Regions from separate parts of the Homo sapiens genome. Here all the other regions are linked to region 1. The links are contacts of gene promoters, found by promoter capture Hi-C in blood cells and fetal thymus (Javierre and others, 2016). All regions are on one chromosome and are shown on one strand. Each heading gives the region's core, a stretch centred on a gene start or on the middle of the fragment in contact. The rest is flanking DNA. Distances are from core to core; before and after follow the strand shown. Region 1 holds the start of GLRX (glutaredoxin). Region 2 overlaps ERAP1 (endoplasmic reticulum aminopeptidase 1). Region 3 overlaps ERAP1 (endoplasmic reticulum aminopeptidase 1). Region 4 overlaps CAST (calpastatin). Region 5 overlaps CAST (calpastatin). Region 6 overlaps CAST (calpastatin). Region 7 has its middle 11 kb from the start of ERAP1.

Region 1 (3,009 bases), core at 217-2,716:
AGGGTGGCAGCCACAGTGGGGCCCGTAGTAGTGTTTGCACTGCCCTTTACACCTCTCAGGGCCTGGGCATCCTATGCAGCTGGTGGTCCCACTAGGCAGCAAGAGCTTCTCTCGTCATTGTGTATACTCCAGGACCTCAGCACACAGCAGTAGGATAACACACTAAGCCCCCTTTCTGCACCAAAATGCTGACTTCTTATTAGAGAGAAGGGGAGAGAAACAACCTCCAATGCTTTATACTCAGAACCCAGAGACAACCTTGTAAGTCAAACTAAAACTGAAATAGGATATGTGCTTGGCCTAACACTGTGCTGTAGAATTCGTGCATCGTAAAAGAGAACTTAGCTGAGCTGGTGGGACATTTCTCATCCCACCTCACAGCAGAACTGATACAGGTGATGTGGCTGGCATCCCTCCTGAAGCCCAGGACGCAAAGCCAAGGATGCTGAAGAGAGGGAAGTCTTTCGGATGGAGGAGAGCAATTTTTAGAGGGTCCCACAGTCTATTCGTAGCAAATGGGACTCTGAGGTCACCTAATCTGGTCTTGCAGCTGGGATCTTTGAGGACTACTGGGGTGGTGACTTGCCCAGGATCACACAGCCAGCCATTATAAGAGCCAGGCCAGAACTCCAGGCTATGATTCCCTACAATGTGGGGCCTGGAAACATCCATAATTAATTTAGAACAAGGGGCAGATAACGGTACATTAGATTTTTCCAGTGGGAGGAATTAGATAAGGAAGAATGAGCAAATTAGAAAAAGAAAGCCTAGAGAAAAGAATGAAGAACATGAATCTCATGTTAAATAACAAACACATCACACCCGGCCCTCCACCCCAGCTTCCACCTCCAGCCCTGCCAACTGAAAACTGTCATTTCCTGGCAGTGCTTAAAACAAAGACTCTAGATAATTCCCCAGGGACTCACCGGCAAGCTGCTGGTCCCACTTACCCTGCCGCACAGCAGACATCAGCTGTACTCCCTCTTCTGCCCCGTGAAGACCTTTGGCTGCAGTGCCGCCGCTCATTCAAGTGACCGAGATCCTCTCTAAGGCGCCCTCCCCCACACCCCCCGCCCCGCACAGCCCTCTGGACGCCTTGAAGTACGGAGCCGCAGCCTTATCCTAAAGAAAGGCACAGCTCTGACAAGAAAAGGCAATCCGGGAGCCTTTCCCTAGCCGTTTAAAATGAAACTCACCGTTCTTGCTCCCGTGAGCTGTTGCAAATAATCTTGAATCTCGTTAGTGTGGTTGGTGGCTGTGATATCGACAAATTCCAGAAGCCCTTGTTTGATGGGCAATTGACTGAGGATCTCTTGGGCCCTCCTGCAGTACGGGCAGGTGGGCTTGATGAACACAACCACCTTCCCAGGCTGGATTTTGCAGTTCACAAACTCTTGAGCCATGCCGATGGGCTGCGGTCTCCCCGGGAAGAATCCTCAGTTGCAGGTATTGCTTGGGGTATTGAGCCCCGACCCAGCCAGTTGGCTCCTATTTAATAAGGAACCTCCCTGGAGGCGGAGTTTGCCTGGTAGCTTGCTCGAGTTTTAAAGGGACAGCTTCGAAGACATTTCCATCTGGTATACTTCACTAGTTAGCAATGCCCAGGAATGCAATACTTGCTATTTAATCATTGGTAGCTATGAAAGACACTCTGGGTATCTTTGTTGTCCTTGGACATTTGGGGAGTGCCTGCCCATTGGCAATGATCAGAGTTTAGTCACCTCTGGGGAAGCATAAAGTGCTTACTCACAAAGGGGCTGAGGAGGCAGTGACTTCTTAGAGCAAATTCTTGTTTTCCCTCTAGGAGATACAGTTGTATTTTAAAATGCAAACAGAATCACTTAAGAAACAGAACACTTGGAAATCTCTTTAGAAGAAGTGAAATTGAAACTGTGACTTTGCACTCCTCATGAAGGTTGCTCTCACAGCATTTTGCTTGGACTGTATGGTGGGTGTTTGTTGTTGTGATCTTTTTAATGGAATTCATTCTCAGTATTTAAAAATCTGGAGGTCTCACAAAACAATTCGGACTTAAAACTTCTCTCTGAAAAGTCAGGTCGGGCAATACAGAGCTTGCACCTTTTAGTGGAAGCTGCTGGGGCTGACAGCTGTTGCCCCCTTTGTATAGGGCAAGTAGTGGCTTTGGTTTGCCACAGGTCCCAACGACAGGCCCATGCCTGAGACACCGGCTTCACCCCATAACCATTTGAGTTGGTAACCCTTGAACAGCAGTTTAATATGGAGGCAAATTCCAACACAATCCTTGATACAAAACTACAGATGAAATGAGAATCTTTTTTTCTGGTTGAGCCTATGTTTGTGACCCTCTGCTTTTAACTGTTTGTGAGGGGAAGTAGTGTTGTAACTCAGACACCACATTCACTTCAAGTGTTATAAGACACGGGTTGTAACAGTAGGAAATCTTTCGCTCTTCCCCAGGGTGCCCATTCTCCTTATCCCGCAAAGCAAAGTCCTCTACTCCTGGGTCTAGTTCCGGCCCCCTCTAGTGTATGGTAGCTTAAATAAACAAATCAAGGAAAAACTATGTCCTTTAAACGTGAATCATCCTTTCCCCAGGAAGTTTTATGGTGAAACCAGAGTATCTTCAAAGAGGCGGGGCCAAGGCCAGAGCTGGACACCACGACTGCCACGTAAGAGGAATCCCAAGCATACTGCGATCAAGGGAAGGGAAGAAAATCCACTCCCAGAAGCAGCTTTTTACTGTGACTCTCATCGTTACTAGAATTAAAATGGCAAAATGAGAAAGCCAGATTCTGAGTCACGGAGGGGGAGCTAAGTGACAGCTCTGTCCAGAGAAAAGGATGTGGCAGGGCTGGGAGGCCCCTCACGTGGTCAGGGCTCCGGACTTCCCACTTCCCACTTCCCTCCAAAGTAGGCTCTGCCACAGAGTCTGAGCCTCCTCTCTTTTTTCATTCTTTTACCTCAGAACCCTGTGGCCAGGCTCCTTCCAGAGGCCCCTGCCAGGAGGTCCAGGGTCTGTTTCAGGGC
Region 2 (3,026 bases), core at 132-2,631, 960 kb after region 1:
AGAACCTAGATTCCGGACCTGCCTCTTTAGCAACAGCTGGATGACCACTTCAGTCATTTATACCTCAGTGCCCACTTTTAACATCCTTAAACAAGGACTAATTGTCTCAAGTAATTTTCTTCAAGTCCTAAGGTTTTTACTGGCAGAGCTAAGACCTCTTAACGTGTCTGAGAAGAGGCACAGTTTTCACTAGTTTAATTGCAACTGATTTATGCTGCTGTCAACACCATAGCATCCAAAAATAACTTCTAAATGACAATCCATTTCTAACTCACCACACCCTCAAAGTATTTTGTCTACCCCATATTAATTAGCTAATTTTCATTTATGTTTAAAAATATATATATAGATTTTTTTTTTTTACCTCTTCAAGCCGTGTTCTTGTGGAGAATTGATTTGTTGTACCCATTACCATGTGGGCTATGGAAGATGAGCCAAGTTCAAACCTAGAGAGGGAAATATTCAAAAACGGGTTGTGAAATACTTATTCATTTAACATATATTTTAAGGGCCTCCTATATATAATAGCTTTCAGCTAAAAACTGATCGGTGTGAAAAATACAAAATATGATGTCTATCCAATGGGTTAAGATCTAGCTGTAAAGAATAATACACACCAACAGCCTAATAAAAGGTTAAGTATCCAACAGAAAATGACAGAAGCAGGAAATGCTATAAGAGTTAGACAAAGACAGATGTGAACAAGCAAATGTGTTCATGGAAGGCCTGGGCTGAACTGTGAGGAGGAAGGCTTCAGATATGTCCATGGGCTCAGGAAGGGGTTATGCCAGATGGAATGGAAAACATCCCTGTCCAGATTCACTAGTTAGCACTGAAGTCCAGTTTTATGTTTTCTACAAATATTTTAGGTATTTCTACTGCCTATCTTCAATCAAAAAGTACCTTTAGACTGTTACTGTTCTTTTACAAACAGCAAGGCTAAAACACAGTAAGGTTATGAACTTATCCAGTCACAGCACAATTTTTGGCACCACTTACTTTTGTACAAGTTTGTTCCAGTTTTTCCTCAGAAATTGCCAGGCCAGTGGGTATCCTACTGGGTTCCTGCCAATGAGTGTAAGAATTTGTGGAAACTCCTGAGTTTTTATTTTATCTCCCTTAAAGCTTTCATCTAGTAGCCTAGAAGGATTAAGAAAAGAAATGTTAGCAATGAATAGGTGATGAAACAGTTATGAATCACTGCAATAAAATTACTTGTAAAAGAAAAAAAAGTCTGCCAGTAACAAAGGTTAAAAAGATAAATGGGTAACCACAATCCTGATAAACCCACTATAGCTACATAATAAAAACTAACATTTATATAGTGTTCATAACACCCATTCTCATATACCCTCTCATTTGCTCAAAAGAATAGTTAAGGAAGAGTAGCTCTAGTAAATATTTTTAATATGTTGTCATTTTAAAGATGCACAAATGTATACACCTTTAAATATTTTTCCTAACACCTGGTTCTCCCTAATTATTTGCCTTTCTCATTAGATGTGTGCTGACTTGCAGTATGTTCCCAGCAGGATAGGCAATTCCTGGCCAAGAAAACAAAAATAGATGCCAGAATGATCTAATCTAATCTAATTTCCCTTGGCCACATGAACATGAATGAATGACGGACTCACCATTGAAGCTTTTCCTTATTTTGGGTTCTGCAGAGGGCAAATTCAATTTGGCTTTTCTCAGTACTGGACAAAGAAAACTGATATTTACTATAAAGAAAATCCCAGCCTTCTGTGCTCTGGGCCCCCACAGCAAACACTGCCAAGGTCACGTCGACAGGCAGGCTATAGAAAGGAACACACTCGGTGAGAATCTGAGGTGCAGTAAGTATGTTTAGAGGCATAATGGTGACTAACTATGAACTGCTGAACTTTCCCCATGATCAGAGAAGCATGCCTGGAAATATAAACAAAAACTACTGATTTCCTTCAGTTACAATTTTTTTTTTTTTTTTTTTTAGGACGGAGTCTTGCTCTGTCACCCAGGCTGGAGTGCCGTGGCTCGATATCGGTTCCTGCAAGCTCCGCCCTCCCGGGTTCACGCCATTCTCCTACCTCAGCCTCCCGAGTAGCTGGGACTACAGGCGCCCGCCACCATGCCCGGCTCATTTTTTGTATTTTAGTAGAGACGGGGTTTCACCGTCTTAGCCAGGATGGTCTTGATCCCCTGACCTCGTGATCCACCCACCTCAGCCTCCCAAAGTGCTGGGATTACAGGCGTGAGCCACCGCGCCTGGCCTAGTTACACTTTATAAAAAAAAGGCAAGAGAAAAATATCTAAAATTAGGTTTTAAGTAGCCTTCTCAAAAATGTGAAATGCCATTTTTATAAATACCTACATATTTAAATACTTTAATGATGCTGGGTGACTCCATAGGGGATCACCTTTCAAGCCAAAAGAAATTCAAACTATATTCAAAATTTACACCATGATCACAAGTCAGGACGGCAGTAGGACCACTGTTTGGATTTCTTTAAGCTGAAGCATGTAGGTTGTTGGCATAAATGTTTCCTGGGTGGGGTTTAAGCTCCAAATGTAAAAAGGACTGAAGTGTAGCAAGAATAGGGATTTCCAGATACGGTAAAATCCTACCTTGCTTAGACAGTGTCAGCAATTACTATGCATCCCTGTCAGGGAATTTGGAAGCCCAAAGAAACTACTATAAAATACAATGCATGTGTTTCTCTATGGCATGGCTGTCACCGTTTAATAAGATTTTGCATTGCCTATACAAAATGAGAATTATTCCCATACCATCCTAACTCCCCAGATATTTGACTTTTATGCATAGAAGTTCCCTCCTAGCATTTCTTAAAGTTACGAGATACATAGATAAATCTTAAAAAGCAATTTATTTTCCAGAAAAGGGCAGCAGGGGAGACACTTAAACTTTTTGTTTTCCCTAATGTTTAGTACCAATGATGGAAAACAGAAAAGATGCCCTTCACATCAACAAATTGGTTATTTAGTAAGGACTGACCTCAAGTTTCCATTGGATTCCTTCCACTTTCTGA
Region 3 (3,149 bases), core at 123-2,622, 980 kb after region 1:
TTTTCCTATAGAAAATACACAGGAGTGCAGACTCACCAATGGCATATTGGAGATGGCTAGGTGCCTTGGCTCTCTTCTAATTTTGATTGAGAAACTTGCTTTGAAGGCAGGTTCATCAAAGCAGGGAAAGGCCATTCTAGCTGCAGTGGGTTCAAATTGTGTTGATGCTAGTATCCTAAAATTAAGGCAAGTGAAATAAAAATTGAGCATGAAGCACCAGGAACTCTAAAACAGGTGTTTGCTTTTTAATTCCTAAAGTTACTATAAGATTGATGGATTTTGCTACTAAAAAATATTTCATCTGACAAAAGCTATCATAAACTAAGTTAAAAGACGAGTTACACTGGGCATGGTCATGGTGTCTCATGCCTGTAATCCTAACACATTTTTGGGAGGTTGAGGTGGGAGGATTACTTGAGCCCAGGAGTGTGAGACCTACCTGGGCAACATGGTAAAACCCCATCTCTACCAAAAATACAAAAATTAGCCAGGCATGGTGGTGCAGGCCTGTAGTCCCAGCTACTTGGGAGGCAGAGGTGAGACGATGGTTTGAGCCCAGGAGGCAGAGGTTTCAGTGACCTGAGATTGCGCCATTGCACTCCAGCCTGGGCGACAGAACCAGACCCTGTCTCGGGAAGAAAAAAAAAAAAGTTAAAAAGAAAAAGTAAAAAACAGGGAAAATTCATTTAAGAAGTATGTGAGGAAAACTTAATAGCCTTAACAGATAGTGAGATCCTAAAAATATGTAATCCTAAAAATGGCTCATACCTGTAATCTTGGCACTTTGAGAGGCCTAGGCGGGCGGATCACGAGGACAGGAGTTCGAGACCACCCTGGCCAACATGGTGAAACCCCATCTCTACTAAAAATACAAAAATTAGCTGGGTGTGGTGGTGCGCGTCTGTAATCCCAGCTACTCAGGAGGCTGAGGCAGGAGAATTGCTTGAACCCGGGAGGCGGAGGTTGCGGTGAGCCGAGTTCGCGCCACTGCACTCCAGCCTGGGTGACAGAGCAAGACTCCGTCTCGACAAAAAAAAAAAAAAAAAAAAAAAAAAAATCCCCAACAACCAAGGGAATCTCAGGCAAAGTCAAAGGTCATTAACAGGCAATTCATAAAAGAAGAACCTATAAATCATTAACAAACATATCAAAAGCTGCTCAACTTCCTTAATCAAAGTTACGTAAATTAAAAAGAGATCATTTATTTGGGGACCTTTTTTGCTCTAAAAAGACTGCCAATATACACTATTGGTGAGGGGTAAGAAAAAATGACAAAGTTTATCAAAAATTTATAGGCTCTTTGGCTTACCAATTTTACTTCTAGGCATTTATTCTAAAGAAATAATTTACAAAAATGCTCATCAAAGTGTTGTTGATACTGAAAAATTGGAAACAATTTCATTTCCATTCCCGAGGGATTAAAGATATTAATGTACAACTATGTATTTTAATAAAATCATTAAAAAGATGTCTAGTAATAGTCATTTATATAAAACATCTTCCCAACATATTAAGTTAAAAAATTTCCTTGTAAAAGAGAAAATATAAGAATTCTATTTATATAAAATAATATATATGCATATCCAGAAAGAAGTCTGGCAGAATATTCCAGTGAAATAGAAGTAGTGGTCAGTTCAGGGGGCTATGAGTGAAATAAATTTTACTTTCTTACCTTGATAAAATAATATGGAATTTGAAAAATAAATTAGTATAATCTACCAACAAATAAAATTCCATTTTAAAACTGAGCATAAAATCTCCCCCAAATAAGTCTCCTCCTTAAAAACAGAACCAAAGCAAGGTGAGAAGAGATCTCTAAAAAAGTTTTAACTGAGATAAAAGTATTTCCTCTAATATGTTGCTAGTAGGATTTGCTGAAGTCCTAACCTGTAGTATCTGTGCATGTGACCTTATTTGGACATAGGGTCTTTACAAGTATCATGGAGTGAAGAAGAGGCCACCAGGCTGGGCCCTAATCTGGTATGTCTGGTTTCCTTATAAGAAGATGGAGACTGGGACATAGGAAAATAGAATGGCCATGCGACTAACAGAGGGAGAAACTAGAATGACGCAGGTGCTAGGCATGGAGTACCAGGGATCCACGGCCACCACTAGATGCTAGGAAGATATAAGGAAGGATTCTACCCAGAGTCTGGAGGGAGCACGGGCCTGCTGACACCTTGATTTCAGACTTCTAGCCTCCAGACCTGAGAGAGAATACATTTTGTTGTTTATAGCTACCCAGTCTGTGGTACTTTGTTACAACAGCCCTAGGAAACTAATACACAGTTCAGGAAAATTAAACATGTTTATTATGTCTCAGAAATCGAACCAAATAAACAAATAGATATTTACTCTGATAGAGCTGGGGGAAAGAAAATTGGTTAAAATAGAATTTTAAAATGAGATTTAAAAAGCAAGGGAAAAAGCCATTTTTAACACTATAAAGAAGATGCAAAAGCAAAACTGAAGAAAAAGTTCAACAGCAAAGGGAATTTTAAAAGACAATCAATCTGAAATAATGAATTTAGCGTGGGCAGCACTTGCAGTTTAAAAGAAAAAGAGAAAAAAAAATACCTCAGTTCCCCTTCCTTGGTTCTGTAGGTGCTTTTGTAAAATCCGTGGAAAGTCTCCGAAAGATTGCCAGCATAGTGAATGACAACTGTGTACGGGAGCCCGACAAGGAGGGGCTCGGGAGCCAGCAGTGCAATTTGCTCCTGACGGGGGTGTTCCAGGACCTGCAGGGGTTCTTCCGATAGCCTCTCTCCAGCTCCCTTCCTGAGGGTGGCCCTAGATATCTGCAGGTGGTGACTATGCAGGATGATGGTGCTGGTGGGCTGACTGGCTGTGATTTCTACTTTCGTGGTTCCCCAGAAGGTCAGCGTGGTAAGGTTTGCATGGATCAAGAGATCATAATGAACTGGGATGACGTACTCAGGAAGTCGTATTTTATTCCAAGGAAATGGTGTCCCATCACTACGTTTTGGAGATGCTTCAGTGCTCTGACACCATGAAGGAGTGGACACAGTTAAGAGAGCCAACAGTGAGGAAAGTAGAAATGACATGGTTGCAAGGGACCATTTGAGGGGCAGAAACACCATCTTCTTGCTCTACCTACCTAGCGGCACAAATGTACAAAAGCAAAAATA
Region 4 (2,978 bases), core at 225-2,724, 940 kb after region 1:
CTAAACTTGCTGCTGCCATCTCTGAAGTGGTTTCCCAAACCCCAGCTTCAACGACCCAAGCTGGAGCCCCACCCCGTGATACCTCGGTAAGCAGCACATCTTATTTGGGAGATAAATGTTTTTGCGCAGCCACAACTAGAAAGAAAATAGGGCGCCTGTTTAAAGCAAATGAAAATAGGCAGAATTATTAGGAAGATCAGGCACCTTCTATTTCAGAAGAGCCGAGACTGATGATTTAGCGAGATGGCAGAGATTAACTTTGAAATGATTAAATGAAACTATATATGTGAAAACATTGTACACATAGTCAAGGACCTTAATATTATTGTTGCTTTATAAGAATTGAAAGTGCAATAAAGTGCATTGTGTCTATATTCAAATTACTAGATTTGAAAAGTTCTTTAGCTTTCCTGATAATTGATTTTCTCCTTTATATTTTTTCTTATACATTCTATAATTTACTACCCATTATTTAACCTCAAGTTTATTTTATGGAATCGTCATGTTTGAGCTTTTACAAACATTTTACAAACGTCATGGAATAGCATTGTTTTCTTCCCAATTCACACCAGTAAAAATTTGTCACTTTCATACTAGCAGTAGAAGAACCTCAGCATCAATATTGTTTTAATTATTTACATGCTGTGAGGCAAGGCTGTGGGACCAAAGCTTTTCCAGACTTCCTTGACTAATCACCTGTGCAATACCAAATTATACATTACCAAGGAGACCACAGCACATCAAATTATAAAGGGATTGCCCTAAACCAGATCCCCATCTCCTTTGGTTGAGAACAGTGCCTCATTTGCTAGATGGAGATGAAGTAACTTTAGCGAAGTCAGCTATGCTTCCATTCCGTTTGATGTAGCATCAAAGCATATTTAGTGCTGTAGTCTGAGATTCTGATGGATTTTCATCCTGTTGCGTCAGCTTCAGGATCATCTGAAAATATCCAGAGGCACAAATGACAAAGCCCAGACCTGGCCCCGGGCAGCTCTACCATTAGCAGCTATAATCCTGGATTATAATAAAGCACTTAAAACCAGTAAAATGCCCCGTGTGTGTGTATGTGCATGTGCATGTGCATGTGTGTATGTAAACACACCCACAATGAAGAAAGTCCCCATGCAACAGAAAGGAAGAATCATTAATAGCCTAGGCTGCCGTTTACACTTCAGTTCTTAATATTCAGGCCAGAGATTCTGCCCTGATGAAGGCTATCAGTAAACATTTGCAATCAAAAACTTTTTTGCCTTTAAGAAGTAGGTTTTACAATGACACTTCTCTGATCACATTTCCCATCAGAGAGGCTTGTTTTTAGTTAACATTTTATTTGAAGATGTCACTAAAACAAGGTATAAAGCTTTATTTAGATAAAAATATTAGGAAATCGAAGAGTCAAATAAACCATGATAATTCACGGGAGCTTTCTTTGCTGTGATTATTAGATTGTTACTAACAGTGTTACATACACTGAAAGCATTTGAAGACATGATTTCAAAGATCTGTGTAATAAAATCACTCCAACAGGAAAACTGCTTCAAAGAAAATAGAAGATCATGGATGTGACTAAGCATGACAGGGAAAAGCTTTATCAGTCCCAAGACCTGGGTTCTATTCACTTTTTAACAATTTGTTTTCAAGCAACTGACTTAGCTTCCCTGAGCTTTTTACCTCAAAAAAAAAAAGCCTGCTTAGTTCACTGAGAACCATTGTGGGCATCAAATAAAACTGGATAGTGTATGTGAAAACATTTTGAAAATCAACTGGAAAGTTCTATACAGTATTGGACAGAGTTCAGCATGGTGTCTTATACAATGTAGATATTAAACACATTTTAATTGAATTCATTTAGAGGTGGAATTTTGAATGCAATGTGTTGAAAAATATGGATTTTGCTATAATAATACTAATAATAATTTACCATTTGTTGGGTCCTAACATACAACTAGTATTGTTTTAAATGCCTTTTCAATCATTTACTTTTCTCAGCAACTTAGGAGTATAAGTACTACTATTATTCACATTTCACGGCCAAGGAAACTGAAGCTGAAAGGGGTTAAATAAGCTGCCTGAATCATACAGTAAATAAATGTTAGAGGAAATAAGCTATCTTAGTTACAGTGATATTGTTGTCCATAATTTTTTTCCTCTAGAATACCAGCTCCCATTTCTGCAATTTCACTTCCATGAGCTTCCTGAAGATGAAAAGAGAGGTTTCCCCACCAGTTCAGAAATTCTCTGAAGTCTTTCAGGGCACTCATCACCAGTGTGGCAGACAAGCCCCTTCCACTCTCCTGACCCCAGATTGTCTCTGGGGTTTTGTGCTTTAGGAAGTATTAGGATGGCAGTGCCGAGCTCCATGGCTTCCCACAAACTGCGGGTCACGCTGCACTTTCTGAAATGCACCCCTCAAGATCTTAGAGTTTTAGAGAGGACCCACAGAACCAAAGAAACACTTACCCTCTATAGTTGCAGAATCTTGCTTCCTAACCATCTGACAACATTAGTAGATGTTTGTTTTCATATCCAGTTTTCTAATGGTGTTTAATTTCTAAATGAAAGGCACACATGATTGGTTCATTTGCTTTTGGACCCTTTATGTGACCTCCAGGTCACCCACTGGATATGGCTCCTGAGGCTGCCACTAAGACCTCCTTAACCTGGTGGGATCTTCACCAAGAGATGGGCAGGGTTGGGTGGAAGGTGCTGGCCCTCCAACCCCAGTAGGGTGACAGATACTGCCGCTCTTCTCCTGATCTTCCATTCCTAGGCTTCTCTTCTCTGACCCTGTCTACTCCCCTGCCCCAGCCCCAGATGTCTTTTTCTTCCAAGGAAACAGGTTCCCTCCTGAAAAGATGGAGTTCCTGGGCTAATTTGCCTCTGATACAGTTTGGCTAATGAGTGACTAATTCAGCATTATTTACTTTTCAGCAGAGTGACAAAGACCTCGATGATGCCTTGGATAAACTCTCTGA
Region 5 (3,144 bases), core at 320-2,819, 900 kb after region 1:
GCCCTGCTACAGTGACTGGGGCTTCTTGTATGTGTGCGTGTGTGTGTATTTTGGTGGAAGGGAGTGTCCAGTTGGTGCCTAAGGGTTCTCAGGAATAGTTATGTTTATATGATTATTTTTGAAAAATAAGTATACTAAAGCTTTGGATTTCTGTCTGTAAATTATGATAGTTTAACTACAAGCATCAATGTGTTCTGCATTAACTGAGGTTTGTGGGGAAGGTGATTTTGTTCATGGGCCATAGACTATAGTGGGTTTCATACAATCACCTTGAGTGGTAGTGTATTGGGGGTGGGGGAAGGTAAGGGAGAAGCAGGAATGGGCTCATGCTGCCCTGTGACTCAGCCTCTGAAGTGGCTCTGGACCAGGCATTAGGGACACAGTGAGGTCCATCTTACAGGCTTCCTTCCCTGGGTGTTGTTGGCAGGGTAGCAGCTGTTTACTGACAGTCAGTTACTTAAGAAGGCAGCTCATGCCAGATGGAATCCCTGGGTTCTAAAACCTAATGGACTTTAAGTGTTAAGGAGGTTTAAATGAGTCTGGGTAGGAGTTTGCAAAGATTATAATTATCTGTTTAATATTAACCAGTGTAATACAAGTTAAGTACTAGAATAGTACTCCAAACCATACAAGTATCCACACACACATCCCAGTACTTAGATGACTGGATCACAGGGGCTGATTGCACCACTGCAAGCATCTCAAGGAAGGGTGTTCCTTGAATAGTTACTATTTATCACCTCTTGCCTTCTAAGGAAGAGCCTAGATGAGACATAATGCAGTAGAATTCCCTCTGTAACCTTGTCTCCACCTTCTCTTTCTTACATGACACTGAACGGACAGTTCACATCCACCCAAGTCTATTTACGGGAGTTTTGTCCTTCTATCTTATGTATTAGGAATAACACACTGGCAATTTAATGAGCATCTGCAATTTGCCAGACATTTTGCCACACTATCTCAAATACGACCCTGCAAATAGATGTTACTGTACTTTGTATGTAAATGGACCTGGAAGACAAAGCTCAAAGTCACAGAGCTTGTAACTGACAGAGCTGGGGCTTGAACAAAATTTTGTTGAGTTGCAAAATCCATGTTTTTTCTGAAAATAACATAAACAGTAATTATAATAATATTTACTGAGCATTCATTATGTGCCAGGGAGTAATTCTAATAATAAACTTACAAGGTAGTTGTTAACTACTAAAGAAAAATTGAGGTTGGGAAACTGGAGATTATAAAATTTAAGTATCTTACCCGAGATTGTTTAGTAAATAGCAGACCCAAATTTTGAACCTATTTGATCTGGTTACAAAGGCTTTCACTACTGGACACCACCTCCTACTAGATTTTTGTGCTCTAAACTGGGTAAAACCAAGGTAAAGGGCCAAGGGCAGTATGGTTAAGAGGAGCTGAAGGACCATGTAGATTGTAGGTTAAATAGAATCGAACTTTCTATTTCTTTCTTTCCTTTCTAGGTGTCAGCTTCCTCTGGTGCAACCAGCAAGTCTTCCAGTATGAATCCCACAGAAACCAAGGTATGAAGAATGCTAATTGAGTGAGTGCTAATTTAAGTTGATTGTGCTGCAAAGCAAAACAAATGTAGACTAATTGTTGATGATGAGTTATATATGCTAGGAAGTTTTAATTATGGAAGTAAACATTTTCTTCCTAATTTATGGGGGTCTTTGAAAACTCAGCTTTCCTTCCAATATTTACCTTACACATCATCTACATGGTTTTAGGTTATCTAGAAAAGTAGAGTCACCTAGAGTTGTTTTGTTTTGTTTTGTTTTGTTTTGAGACAGGGTCTTGCTCTGTCACCTAGGCTGGAGTATAGTGGTGTGATTACACTCACTGCAGCCCCAACCTCCTGGACTCAAGCGACCCTCCCATCTCGGCCTCTTGAGTAGCTGGGGCTACAGAGGCACACCACCATGCCCGGCTAATTGTTTTTTTGTTTGTTTGTTTGTTTGTTTGTTTTTGTAGAGACAGGGTCTCACTGTGTTGCCCAAGCTGGTCTCAAATTCCTGGGCCGAAGCAGTCCTTCCACCTGGGCCTCCCAAAGTGCTGGGATTACAGGAATGAGCCACCGTGCCCGTGGCCAGTTTTGTTTTTGTTTTTGATCCTAGATTTGATTGAGTTTTTTAATTGAAGATATTCCTCTAAGTACATTTCTCTACATTGAAATGAGAATATAAATTATTAATTCTTGCTAAAATGGTCTTACTATTCTGAGCACTTAAAAATAAATATAAAAATGAAAGATTATACTAAATGAACATAAAAATATACTGGTTATTTCGGATGCTTTCCCAAGTTGTTTTTTCTGAAATTTGAGTCTTGTGGGGTACCATTTTATTGACAAACCTTTCTTGAGCTCTATTTGGGATTTATTCTTAAAATTATTTTTTTGAATTTCAGAATTAAAAATAAAAGAATTTCCTCTAGTGGTATTGTCCACTTTGTTCTGAAGAGCTGGCTGCAGCTGCCTTTTAAACCCTCTCCCTAAGTTACTCTAGCTCAAGCTGTATCTCTTGGGAATATTTCAGGGGAGGGAATTAAAGAGGGAGCATTTTCAAAATTCTCTCAACTAATGTTTGTGTGCCAATATTCTTTAATACCTTTAAGAGCTACCCCAACTCCATTATTATTAAATTGCCCTTGTTTAAAATTACCAACCTACTTTTGTTTTCTGTCTTTCATATTACTATGCTATCCCTGTAGTTTCCTATCCCAGGTGATGTGGCACTATAACTTAGTACTATCAAAGGATTATATGGCCTCATCTTGAATCATCTTCAAAGAACATTACAAATATCTAGAAATACACTATCCACATCTAAGTTCTTATGTCATTTAGCATTCATTTAAAATTTTAATCTAAAATTATCAGTTTTTAAATTTAGTATTTAAATTTACATTGATTTCTAAATTGCTTTCAAAATATACATTATATAATCTATAATTAATGTTAGCTGTCTCTATTTAATTATGTTAAGCTTAATCTTAAAAAATTAAAAATCTTTTTTTTTCCTTGAGGCAGGGTCTCGCTCTGTCTTCCAGGCTGGATGTAGTGGCATGATCACAGCTTGCTGCCACCTTGACCTCCTGGATGCAAGTGATCCTCCTACCTCAGTCTCC
Region 6 (2,906 bases), core at 1-2,500, 920 kb after region 1:
TGTCTCAGTCATCATCTAAGACCATCTCACCATTATGATACACAGAAGGGCAGAAACCAGAGAAATTGCACTCTTGGAACATAAAACCTTCAAGTTTGATTGTATAAAGGACTTTGAGCCCTGAGGATCACTAGAGGGACACCAAGTAGCTGGTACTGCCCAGCATTCTCAACTATATTTCACTATGACATAATTCTCACAAATCGCAAAAGGCAATCCTGCAGCTCTGTGCTGGCTGGGAACACATGTCTCCTCTGCAAACAGTCAAGATAATGCTCAGGAACGGTTTCTATCAGAGCAGCTTGTGCCTCTCCCCTCCTGGAGTGGACAGTTTATTTTTATCTGGCAGGCTGGGGAACAGTGGTGAGTACCACACCCCTGAGAGTGGGAGTTCCTACAACGATCAGCCATTGTGCCTTCAGAGAAGAAGGCAGCAGGGGCCACTTCAAGCTTCCCTGCTTCCTAAGCTTAGGTTGTCAGAAGCCTTTTTAGAGATACATTTTTAGAAAAAGAAAAATAGTGTGGTAACAGTTTACTACTTGCTTCTTTTTTTTTTGTTTGTTTAGAGTATTTTATAGTAATATTACTATAGCTTTATGTCTAGCTTACCAAATAAGGGGTGAAGTGTGCCCCAGAGAACGCTGTTACTGTAGAAACGTGTCTTAGCCCCAATTTCCACTCATTGGTAAGTTCTTTTTCCTTTCTCTCTTTTGCAAGGTTTCAAATAAAATTGCCTTTCTAGAGCACTTCCCCAATCCATATTCAGTTTATAATCTAAAATGTATTTTACAAAGAAGTAAATGGATTGTTCGGGCTCCAGAGATGTCTTTTTTCATGCACAGGATTTTTTACTTTTAACAGGATACAATGAGTGATCAAGCACTCGAGGCTCTGTCGGCTTCACTGGGCACCCGGCAAGCAGAACCTGAGCTCGACCTCCGCTCAATTAAGGAAGTCGATGAGGTACTGACCTTAGAGTTGATTTACAAAGCTTGTTAGTCTGCACATTACAAAACCGAATGCACTCTGCATGTTTAGAATTCTCGCACAACTTTTATTGGAGAGTAAAAGTGAGCATTCTTCATTGTGCCTTATTTATTGCTGAGTGGTTAGCAACTAAGGGGGATAGTTACATGACTGACTTGTGAAACAGCTAGAATTTTAACATTTGAAATGAACACGAATCTCCCTTGCTAGAGCTTAAATGACCCTTGACTAAACAAGGTAACAAGGAGGCAATGCCTGGTGGGAAATAGTGAAGTTTGGCAATTGGAAATTTGTATTTTCAGAAGGGTTCTGGGTGCTTCTGTTTATAAGAGAAGGAGATGTCTATACACGGAGTGGGAAGATCCTTCATTTATCACTATGGGGAAAGATGTTGAAAATTTTGTCTCAAATTAAAATCAAGCAACAATTACCCTAACTAGAGCTCCTGCATATTTATAGAATAATGCTGATGAGTGTTTATCCCGCCACACTCCAAGATCTTAACAAGCCTTCTGAACCAAAACAAGCTTACATCTGGTGTACGAAAGTTTTAATATTAAATTATAATTTTTGTGGAATTTTTCAACTCAGTCCTCTGGGGTGAAAGAGGAAGGAAAGGAGAGAGTTGCCGGTTCCTGACAAGGCAGTGTTGTGGGGAGATGGAAAGGTAGCCTGGGATCCCCAGGAGCCCGCCCCACCTCCATCAGCTCAGGCTGGGGGTGCTGGCAGGCATTGCTGTCACAATGCCCCATCTCTGCTGTCACTTCCTGTTCTGAGTCATCAGGGAAGGGGAGTCTCCCTGACTTCCAGCAACAATCCTTGAGTCTGGGACTGCCCTGGCCTAAGATGGGCCAGTTTCTATCTTCGACTTTCTTGGAGGGCTCACCGGCCACAGTGTGGCACGATAAGCTTTGTGACGGTGAACGCAGAGGAGCAAGAGAAGCAGTTCGTATCTTCCAGGACCAAGTAATGTATTGGGAAGAAGGGAAACTTGATTACAACACAATGTGAGATATACATTACTTAGAGTAGCCGACAGAAGCAGTGTCATCTTGAGGAAAGCGGGGTGTTGGCAGAATCCTGGGGGGAGTCAGGAGGCCAAGCTGAGTTGTGGCTTTACCACCTGAGGGCGACAGGGCCACAAGTATATTGCACTTCTGCCCCAAGCTTCTTACAGACACTTAAGGAGAGACAATTAATGTGGGAAGGGAGGGTATAAACATGTCATAAACCTCAGGATCAAAGGAGTCTTAAAAGTGACTAAAAGCAGATAAGCAGATGTTAAGAAAAAAAGTGACATAAAATAAGTTATTTAAACATGTGGGTAACTAGTTTGGGAATGCATATGAATGTATTAAGTTCCCTCTAGAAAACTTCAGAGTCGCAGCAAACTAAAATTCCAGCAAAAAGAACTCCTCTTTTCCACTCTTATGACATAATAGTTGTATTAGTCTGTTCTCATGCTGCTAATAAAGACATACCAGAGACTGGGTAATGTATAAAGGAAAGAAGTTTAATTGACTCACAGTTCCTCATGGCTAGGGAGGCCTCATAATTACGGTGGAAAGTGAATGAGGAGCAAAGTCACGTCTTACATGGAGGAAAGTAAAAGAGCATGTGCAGGGGAACTCCCCTTTATAAAACCATCAGATCTAGTGAGAATTATTCACTATCATGAGAACAGTACAGGAGAGCTCCGCCCCCATGATTCAATTACCTCCCACTGGGTCCCTCCCACGACACGTGGGAATTATGGGAGCTACAATTCAAGATGAGATTTGGGTGGGGACACAGCCAAAGCATATCACTAGTTTTCCTTTTTAATCATATACAAAGTATGAATGTTTCTAAAGAGGATCTTTCAGTCCTCTAGATTATTAACCTGAATTCTTAGTACCCGACTTAGTGGGTCCTTTACA
Region 7 (3,243 bases), core at 477-2,976, 1.0 Mb after region 1:
TAGCAACTGTGATCATCTAATTCACCTGCTCATCAAAGCAATAAATAATGCCAACCTCATTTCATGTTTTGTATCCATGCAATTATAAATAAGAAAAAGAAAAATAACACAATCAAAAAGATCAATGACATTTTAAAAACTAATTTCTATGTTGTGTCAGGGTTCAATGGCAGAGCACAGAATCACTAAGCTATTTAATCAGAAAAGGATTTATTGCAGGCTATTACATGACTTACATAATCATTGGGAAGGCTTAAAAAATACACTAGACTGAGCTTCCAGAAACAAATCGCAAAACCACAATGTAGAACTTGGCCACCAGTGAAACTGCTTCTCTTGCCATGATCCAGGAGCCATCTGCTAAATTGGGCAGCCTCTGCCACAATTGCTGGCTCCAGAACCATACCATGTGTGCCACAATCTTTCCCCACAAAATGAATAGCTCAAGAGCTGCCTGTCTCCCTACCGAACTCAATTCCAAATTCAAGTCTCCCACCAGTGCTACTGTTTGGCAGAGCCTAAAGCACATCTAGAATCTAGGAGCAAGGAGTCTGGAAAATAAAGTGTTTGCTTTCCCGACTCTGCAGTGGTGTGAGAAATTCTGAAAAGCGTTTGGAAGAGATGCTGAGTGAGCCAGTCCCAATATCTGCAATAAATATTAAACTGTACTGAGGTTGAACAAATAAAAAAGAAATAAAGCAATCATGAGGAAGCCTCAAGTAATATTGATTGTAATTAAGAACAAAAAATAATAATTGAGGTACCAATCGTAGATTTAGATTATGAAAGACACGGGGCACTTGGGAGTGAGATGAATATTTAACATTGTGACAGAAGCATATTGCCAAAAATCAAGTTATCATTTGGTATATTTGGAATGTCTCCAGGGGCTTTAAAACCCTTTTGCCTGCTCAACACACCTCCCTTTCCTCCTGTAAATGAATAATCACACTGCTCAGGCTCAGTCTGAGATGAACACAACACCTCCACTCTCTGGCCACCGCGATGAGGCCAAGGGCAAAGCCAGTCCAAGCAGACTCCCAGCCCAGGATTGTTCTGGCTGAAGCTAACAGGGAAGCCTCTTTTTTTTTTTTTTTCCTTTATGTTCCCAGCACTATATAAATATGGCCCTAGAGTTAATGGCTAAGTTCCCGCTATGGGTGATGGCTGAGAGAATAACCCCAAAGAAGAAAGAAAAGGAGGCTAAGCTTGAGAGGCTTTTTTTGTTGTGCAGGTTTTCTGAGTTCATCCTTAATTAAGGCCTGGGACTACCTCTTTCCTCCAGCTTTCTTCAACGCCCGAGGCATTCAGAATCCATGCCATAAATCCTCCCTCTTGGATAAAGATAGTTTTATTGCGGTGAGAATCAGTAGCGTTTAATTTTAAGAGTTGTAATAAACAAACCACAGTCTCAATCTTATAACCTGCTATTCCACTATTCACTTAAAGGAAGGTAGTGTCTTTTGTGTTCCATGAGAAAAGTGACATTTCTTTGCTTTCCCATACATTGAGGTCAACCTAAATTCCAATGAAGCCAAACCTGAACTGCATTTATTTATTTATTTATTTATTTATTTATTTATTTATTTATTTATTTTTGAGACGGCGTCTCGCTCTGTCACCAAGGCTGGAGTGCAATGGCATGATCTCAGCTCACTGCAACCTCCGCCTTCCAGGTTCAAGCGATTCTCCTGCCTCAGCCTCCCGAGTAGCTGGGACTACAGGCACCCACCACCACGCCCGGTTAATTTTTATATTTTTAATAGAGACGGGGTTTCAACACGTTGGCCAGGATGGTCTCAATCTCTTGACCTCGTGATCTGCCCGCCTCGGCCTCCCAATGTGCTGGGATTCCAGGCGTGAGCCACCACACCCGGCTTGAACTGCATTTTCTAACCAACTGACTTTATTTCAGTGATTTTGTAACATCACTCAATTTCAGGTAAGTACTCTCTAAGAACAGCTTCATTTGTCAGAAGCCTCATGGACAGCTGCTACCACCATATCATCATGTTTTCATCCTACAGACAATCATCAGCGGTGTAGACTGGTGAGTTCCAGCTATTTCACTAACAATGGGGAAGAACCAAAGAAAAATTGCTGTGAGAGGAGGAAGGCAGGAGAGCCTGTGGCTCCAGAGGGGTGTGTGTGTTTGTGTATGTGTGTTTGTGTGTGTGTGAGAGAGAGAGAGAAAATAAAATGTTTTCTACCAACAAAACTCAGGTGTGTTTCCTTTACTTGCCTTGAAGCTTCTTCAAAACTTGTTATACCGTAAGTTTGAAAAACCAAACACTTTTCCTAGGATTGTTTTTTTACGTACTAAGGACCAGATCAGATCAGCAATTAGAAGTATGACATACAAAATAATCACCCTCAAGGAAGGTTTAAATTAGGGATGAATTTCCAGTATTGACATGGATCTTTCCAAGCACCCTGCATATTCAGCACAGTATTCTAGTATTTTGTGAGTGAAGTCATTATTTCTTAGGACATCATCAAAAGATTGAGCGTGTAATAGACTTCAAGCACCTATGGATTTAATATTTACAATTTTGACTATTTGGGTGTGACCTGAAGGTCTAGCACTTGGGTAGTTTATAATTTTGCCGAGACGTAGGTTAGAGTTACATGAACAGATGCAAGAGAAGGAGTCACTTCACCCATATGTGGGCCAATGACTCAGAATCCACATCCCAACCCAATTCTGTTGTTCTCCATTTGCCATCACAGGCATATTCACTTTCTCAAGTGATAAAATCTCAACGGAAACAGCAAAAAAAGCTTTAAAATTTCATGAACATTCTTGAAAGGATCTCTCAAAGTTCTAAAAATCATTTTACTGCATTTTATGGGAGAAAATATATACTCAAGTATATATTTAATCTGGCAACTAACTAATCAGCATTTGCTTATTTGCCATTTAGCAAACAACATAGCTTAAAAAAAGACAAATGAAAGAAAATCTCATTTTCAGAATTAGTAGCAAGAATATGCAGGGTGCTTGGAACGTCAATACTGGAAATTCATCCCTAATTTAAACCTTCCTTGAGGGTGATTATTTTGTATGTCATACTTCTAATTGCTGATCTGATCTGGTCCTTAATATGTGAAAAAACAATATACTTCAGATTTGAATGTTGATAAACAGTCTTGTAAAAGTTTGCTGAAATCTAAACGTTACTAGTTTTCCTTAAACTGTTGAGGATCATATAACATCTACAACCATGTAATTTTTCAGTGAGT

What was found. Contacts are between HindIII fragments. The CHiCAGO score rates a contact against its expected background, and 5 or more counts as called.
Region 2: a contact is called between a fragment that was not itself captured here and the fragment with the promoter of GLRX in region 1, in 2 of 17 cell types (total CD8 T cells and total CD4 T cells). The highest score is 5.7, in total CD8 T cells.
Region 3: a contact is called between a fragment that was not itself captured here and the fragment with the promoter of GLRX in region 1, in 2 of 17 cell types (non-activated CD4 T cells and total CD8 T cells). The highest score is 6.1, in non-activated CD4 T cells.
Region 4: a contact is called between a fragment that was not itself captured here and the fragment with the promoter of GLRX in region 1, in 1 of 17 cell types (activated CD4 T cells). The highest score is 6.1, in activated CD4 T cells.
Region 5: a contact is called between a fragment that was not itself captured here and the fragment with the promoter of GLRX in region 1, in 5 of 17 cell types (activated CD4 T cells, naive CD8 T cells, total CD8 T cells and 2 more). The highest score is 7.4, in activated CD4 T cells.
Region 6: a fragment that was not itself captured here is called in contact with the fragment with the promoter of GLRX in region 1 in 2 of 17 cell types (activated CD4 T cells and non-activated CD4 T cells); the score reaches 6.0 in activated CD4 T cells.
Region 7: a fragment that was not itself captured here is called in contact with the fragment with the promoter of GLRX in region 1 in 1 of 17 cell types (non-activated CD4 T cells); the score reaches 7.5 in non-activated CD4 T cells.

What each region holds. Positions count from the first base shown.
Region 1 is chr5:95,821,260-95,824,268 of GRCh38, forward strand. It overlaps GLRX (glutaredoxin), which reads right to left and starts at 1,467. Exons shown (of 3, transcript NM_001118890.2): 1 at 1,197-1,467. The coding sequence starts at 1,403. RefSeq lists enhancers at 1,895-1,984, 2,215-2,715. The HindIII fragment of the contact is 7,969 bases long and covers 1-3,009 here.
Region 2 is chr5:96,780,059-96,783,084 of GRCh38, forward strand. ERAP1 (endoplasmic reticulum aminopeptidase 1) reads right to left here. Exons shown (of 19, transcript NM_001040458.3): 15 at 2,993-3,026; 16 at 1,635-1,796; 17 at 1,000-1,140; 18 at 365-446. Among named protein-coding and RNA genes, the nearest start is that of ERAP1, 26 kb to the right of the region's middle. RefSeq lists an enhancer at 314-1,513. The HindIII fragment of the contact is 517 bases long and covers 1,124-1,640 here.
Region 3 is chr5:96,800,826-96,803,974 of GRCh38, forward strand. It overlaps ERAP1 (endoplasmic reticulum aminopeptidase 1), which reads right to left. Exons shown (of 19, transcript NM_001040458.3): 2 at 2,578-3,118; 3 at 37-175. The coding sequence starts at 3,101. Among named protein-coding and RNA genes, the nearest start is that of ERAP1, 5.5 kb to the right of the region's middle. The HindIII fragment of the contact is 5,871 bases long and covers 1-3,149 here.
Region 4 is chr5:96,762,287-96,765,264 of GRCh38, forward strand. CAST (calpastatin) reads left to right here. Exons shown (of 32, transcript NM_001750.7): 25 at 1-86; 26 at 2,935-2,978. It also overlaps a transcript of ERAP1 not described here. Among named protein-coding and RNA genes, the nearest start is that of ERAP1, 44 kb to the right of the region's middle. The HindIII fragment of the contact is 226 bases long and covers 1,362-1,587 here.
Region 5 is chr5:96,721,161-96,724,304 of GRCh38, forward strand. It overlaps CAST (calpastatin), which reads left to right. Exons shown (of 32, transcript NM_001750.7): 4 at 1,479-1,538. Among named protein-coding and RNA genes, the nearest start is that of CAST, 60 kb to the left of the region's middle. The HindIII fragment of the contact is 2,862 bases long and covers 139-3,000 here.
Region 6 is chr5:96,741,794-96,744,699 of GRCh38, forward strand. It overlaps CAST (calpastatin), which reads left to right. Exons shown (of 32, transcript NM_001750.7): 16 at 862-963. Among named protein-coding and RNA genes, the nearest start is that of ERAP1, 65 kb to the right of the region's middle. The HindIII fragment of the contact is 523 bases long and covers 990-1,512 here.
Region 7 is chr5:96,817,345-96,820,587 of GRCh38, forward strand. It overlaps a transcript of ERAP1 not described here. Among named protein-coding and RNA genes, the nearest start is that of ERAP1, 11 kb to the left of the region's middle. The HindIII fragment of the contact is 1,041 bases long and covers 1,207-2,247 here.